Regions from separate parts of the Homo sapiens genome. Here region 2 is linked to region 1. The links are contacts of gene promoters, found by promoter capture Hi-C in human tissues and cell types (Jung and others, 2019). All regions are on one chromosome and are shown on one strand. The core of a region is centred on a gene start or on the middle of the fragment in contact, and the rest is flanking DNA. Distances in the headings are between cores, read along the strand shown.

Evidence for each region. Contacts are between HindIII fragments. The study calls those that stand out against the background at their distance.
Region 2: a contact is called between a fragment that was not itself captured here and the fragment with the promoter of DIRAS3 in region 1, in 1 of the 25 tissues and cell types used here (thymus).

What each region holds. Positions count from the first base shown.
Region 1 is chr1:68,049,206-68,052,024 of GRCh38, forward strand. DIRAS3 (DIRAS family GTPase 3) reads right to left here and starts at 1,422. Exons shown (of 2, transcript NM_004675.5): 1 at 1,343-1,422. All of the region lies in intron 2 of GNG12-AS1 (GNG12, DIRAS3 and WLS antisense RNA 1), which reads left to right. It also overlaps the pseudogene ARL5AP3. The HindIII fragment of the contact is 12,521 bases long and covers 1-2,819 here.
Region 2 is chr1:68,082,996-68,085,814 of GRCh38, forward strand. All of the region lies in intron 3 of GNG12-AS1 (GNG12, DIRAS3 and WLS antisense RNA 1), which reads left to right. Among named protein-coding and RNA genes, the nearest start is that of DIRAS3, 34 kb to the left of the region's middle. The HindIII fragment of the contact is 6,559 bases long and covers 1-2,819 here.

The sequences.
Region 1 (2,819 bases), core at 172-2,671:
AAAGGGGGCCAGGGAGGTTAATACAGTAAATATTTGAAATTGATATAAAATAAATACATACATATATCTAAACCATTCATTTTTGCAGCTTTCAGGTAAAATCTAGCACTTTATTCCAGTCTATGAGATGTGGTTAGTTGATATCATCTAATATTAAGTAATGACATCAGCTATCCAAATCCTGGGCACAATTCCTTTAGCAATGATGACCTTTAATAGAATTTAGCTTAAAAAACTAGGAGATTTCTGCTACAGTGATGCAATCTTTCACATCTTATTTATTAACAAAAATCAACAATCCAGCTTTCCTTAGGTCTTCACGCACTAAGAGTTCTCTAGTCACAGAAATCCTAGCCTTGTCTGCACTCTCCACAACTATTATAAACTCCATGTTAGTATCAAGAGTTCCAGTAAAGACCAAATATCTCTTGGCCACCAACATCCCACATTAGGAAATGTGCATTACTAATTATTCTGTTTTACATTACTTCCTGCTCTAGGGGATGTATGTACAAATTCATTCATAGAAAATTGGTAAAGCAGCCGGGCGCATTGGCTCATGCCTGTAATTCCAGCACTTTGGGAAGTCAAGGTGGGAGGATCGCTTAAGCACAGGAGTTCAAGACTAGCCTGGGTAACATAGGGAGACCGCCGTCTCTATCAAAAAGAAAATAAAAGAAAAAAAATTGGTAAAGGACACACGTGATAACTGAAGTTTCCAGATGTGAAGAGAATTCTCATTCTCAGGCAGTGGACCCCCCCCCCCACTCCCCTCCACACTCCTTCCACCTTCCCAGGCCACCTGGCCTCAGGCTGAGGGGGAGGTGAAAGTTTCCAGGAACCAGAGGGCGTCCAAACCCAGCGGCCGTGCGGAGCTCAAGGTCCCGCCGCTGCTGTTGCGGCACCAGCCTGGCTCATGGACATCACCACGCACCTGCAAGGTCAGGTTTCTCTCTGGTGGCTGTGGCGGCTGCTACCCTCCTCGCCCATTTCAATCTTACTTTCACACTACATGACTCCACTATTACTTCCTGAACACTAGCTACCTACGCAGCTGTAATAGTGGACACTGTGTCAACCTTTAAGCTCGCACACTTATCAAACCTCGTTCTTCTATATTAAAAAGTGCTAGCTTCCCAACGGGACTATCCAAAGTGCAGTTGCAGGACCTGCCAGGAGCCCGCAGGGCTGCGGGTGGTTCTTGCGTAATCGCGCCAAGAAAGACCTGGTTCCAGTTTCAGGGACAACTCGCCCATAAACTTCTACTGCGCAACAGCATCTGCTGCTTTGTCTGACACTTGTTGTTTTCAAGTACCCCTAAAAAAGCGAAAGAAAGACTTACCTTTCTCGGAGGCACGAACCAAGCAGCCTAGAAGACAAATGCGCTGCTCGGAGAGACTGCCGCGGCAACCAACTGGACACCCCAAGAGCTCACTCCTCCGCGGTTTTATATTCCGACTTGCGCACAGGAGCGGGGTGCGGGGGCGCAGGGAGTGTGGGTAACAGGCATAGATTCCGCTTGCGCAATACGTGGTAAGAAACCAGCTGTGAGGGGCTGGCCCAACGCAGAGCGGCGCGAGGTCCGCTTGGCATCTACAACAATCGAGGGGCTAGTCCAGAAGTTCAAGGCGGGGTTACAGGTTGGGGAGGAACTGTTAAACTGTGGACTTTTTCTCACCTGTTGGAATAAGCTTCAGGCAAAACTTTGCCAACAAAAACCGGTCCAACTGATTTTAGACGAAAGTCCAAAAGCAGTTTAATGCAGGACAGATAATCTTTTCCACAAATGATACTGAAAAGACAGGACATCTATAGATTCCCCCCCGCCAAAAATAACCCTTACATAAAAATTAAGTGGCTAGATATAACTGTGACGAGTAAAATTACAAAACGGTTTTAAAAAACAACAAACTATTGTCTAAGGCTAGGCAAAAGGTTCTTAAATTGACATTAGTGGCAAGACCGGTAAAAAGAAATGTTGATGAATTAGACTCCATAAATTTAAAACTTTTGCTTTGTGAAAGACCCTGTAACGATACTGAAAAGGTTTACCTAGGAGAAAATATTTACAAGCCATATATCTGGCATACAACCAGTATCTAGAATATGTAAATAACTCAAAAATCAATTATTTTTAAAAATCCAATTAGAAAATAGTCAGAAGACATAAACAGACACTTCACTGAAGATATGCAGATGGCAAATAACCATATGAAAACCTTTAATGTCATTAGCCATTAGAGAAATGGGAATACGAGGCTTTCGTTGTTCTTCGCCTCCCACTAGGGCGGGTTGAGGGTCTGGCTCCAGTAGCCCCGGGTGCCTCTCACTCCTTGGGCGCAATGCTACTATCCTGGCAGAACCCTCGCCGAACCCTCGCAGGACGCCCCATCGGGTCCGCCAGCGGCTAGGAAGCCCGATTGTGTCGTTCCTTTTTCCCTCTGCGCCTCCCACCGCCAGTCCCTTTTCCAAATGCGCCTGCGTCTGCCCTCCACATCTCCGAGCTCCGTCTGGCTTCTTTCTCCCTTGCCTGTGAGCGCCTGGCGGCGGATGCATTGAAAGCTGCGCACCACCGCCTACCGAGCGTTTTGGGGAGTGTGTGGAAGTTGTTGGCAGCAGGTTTTGACAGCAGTACCCTATGGGCCTAGTCGTTGACGGTAGCACCTGGTTTTGTGTGCCCCAGCCAGCTGAGGCCAGGGTGTGTGGTGTGGGCCACTGGTACTGCTCTTCTGCCACTATAATCCCTCCCCCTACCAGGTACCTGGTGCGTAGAAGTCTAAAGACCTGTGAGGTCTAGCCTGGCGCCTGTAATCCTAGAG
Region 2 (2,819 bases), core at 178-2,677, 34 kb after region 1:
TGCTTCTGGGGAGACCTTGGGAAAGTTGCAATCATGGTGGAAGGCAAAGGGGAAGCAAGTACATATTCACATGGCTGGCAGGAGAGGGAGAATGAAAAAGGAGGTGCTACACACTTTTCAAACAACCAGGTCTCCTGAGAACTCTATTATAAGACAGCATTAGGGGGATGGTGTTAAACCATTAGAAACCACCCAAATGTTCCAATTACCTCCCACCAGGCCTCACCTCCAACATTGGGAATTACAGTACAACATGAGATTTGCGTGGGGACACAGAGCCAAACTATATCAGATATTAACCTTGATCACCTGGCTGAGGTAATGTTTATCAGGTTTCTTCACTATAAAGTTACTCTTCTTTTTCTCTTTCCATATCATACTTACAGATTACTTACTTTAAAACTTTAAGGCTAATTAATAGGATTACAATAGCCAATGTTTACAATGAAGTGTTTTAAATTATTAATAACAAAAAGGTTTTTAGACAAGATGGACAAGATGCTTCCTTTTTCCTGCACTAACAGTGGGAGAGATGTTTTCTTCTGACTCATAAAGCTTGTACAGAGAATCTGATTTCTTAAAGTCTTGAGTTGACATTTACAAGGATGTTGATCTTGTTTTCCTTCATAATTTGGAGATGTAAATATTTCAAACTTTCCTATTGGTTCTGCTATTTGTAAATATACAGCTGTCCTTGGACACATAAGGTGAGAATAATTATAGCATATCACAGTAACAATGTAAGAATCAAGGGGACTGATAAGCAAGGGACTGAGAATGTTGGAGGAAAGGACCTTGTTAACGTGGCAACTCAAGGACAGCTTCATGAAAGTCTTAACATACAAGTGTTATTTGAACAAGTAGAGGAGGCCAACAGTACACCACATGCACTAAGGCAGGAAAGGAAAGAACATGACGTATAGGCAAAGTCTGCCATGTGAGAGCATAGGGTGTGTAGAACTTATGCAACAGGCTAAAGAGTTTGCACTTCATTCTGTAATCCTGAGTGTGGAGGACAATGGCATTTTTGGGCAAGGAGAGTAATATGATCAGATCTGAGCTTTAGAAAAATAACTGGCAACTATCTAAATGAAATTTGAAGGATAAGAGCCTGGAGAGAAACATAGAAGTTATTATTAAAAACTATGAAAGAATATATACAAAAGAGGGGATATTGAAAATAGGAGTAAAAATATGTAGAGAGATTATGGAGGCAGAATAGACAGGCCTTGGGGCCAATTTCATAGCTAACAGTGGCAGAGACTGGCAAGATCCTTACCAAACCTGTATCTTCCTCTTCCTGGGCACACAGCTGGACTACATTTCCCAGCCTCTCTGGCATTAGGCACAGCTATGACTGACTCTCCAGCCAAAATGAACATTATGGGTGAAAGTCATGTATGCCACTTTCAGACCTATCCTTCTACCATAAGACTGGAATGGAGAGAACTTTCAAGACCACTCTGAGAGTCATGCATAGAATATAATAGAACTATGGGGTAGAAGGAGCTGTAGCTCCCAAATTACTTCCTGGAGAATTACTCAGCCTGCAATAGACTTTGAGACAACTGAGAAATAAACTATTTCCCTACTGAGCCTTTATATGCTTGGACTTTTCTGTAATCACAGCATACTGTGGACTACCCTAACCAAATTAAACATTGATACTTTGAAGTGGGTGCTCCTACAACAGAAAACTAAAGCATGTGACCTGGGCTGGTGAGGAGACAAATTATTAGAGACTGGAATGGCTGAGGAGCCCTGTTTTGCTATGCCAAACTATTTGACAAAATGGTTGCCTGCCTAAAGTTCTAGAAAAGTGATTGTAAGTCAGAAAGATAGTGTGTGTTGGCCACTATGGCTGCTTTGAGTAAGATATTACAAGACAAAGGTGTGCTTGGGCAAAAATTGTGTGTGGCAAGCACAGGTGAAAGGAAACAGAGAATATCTAATGTTGGGCTTTGAATAGAAGAGGAAAAAACTGCTTCTAGATCCTGAATAAAAAGAAAAAAGATACAGGAAGCCAGAAAAGTCCATTAGACTCACTTGGTAGTACAGATGAGATGAAGGGTGTTGATGTCTCATGAGCCTGCTAGCTTCAAGTTAGTAAGAGAGGCATGGCGGGTAGTTAGACAGAGAAAGAAAACATATTTGAAGGGTGCATCAGAAAAGAAGTGCTGTTAATGACACAGGAAACAGATTAGCAACAAATGAAACAAAAACCTACTACTGTTTGAGGCAATTTTACTACCAAAGAAACCATAAGCCGGGTCTAGAAAAGTCTGTATTATGGAGAGTTGCTTTTTAAAGAAAATCTCAGGAAGAAAGTGAGTGTACTTGGGTCTACTCTAACACCCATGTTGGAGATGAACAAATATGAAAATGAACAGGGAAGAGCTTCCCAAAGAACAAGACTAGGGGCCTCCCAGAACAGTGAGTGAGAAAGATCATCCCATAGAGCAGATCACAGCCTAACTAAGGACTTCCTCGTTTAGGGTAGAGAGCCTTTACAATGTCTGCCTAGTGGGATTTCTGAATTGCCAAGGTCCAGTGACCACAGTGTGCCTCACATTCTTCCTCTGTTTTCTAATGGGCGTTCATTATGATTATCTTATTCTTCCTCTGTAATCATGTGCATGGTGAGTGGCCCTGGGGGTAATGGGGAATAACTTTCCTTTTTCATTAATAGGTCACCAAACTCGAGAAGCAAAATCAGCACCTGATGGCAATTGCTGCCCATCACTCAGAGATCCTGGACTTGAGGCTGAATGCTGTGATGGGATAGGATTTGAGGGAAGGGCACAAGTGTGTTCTTTGTG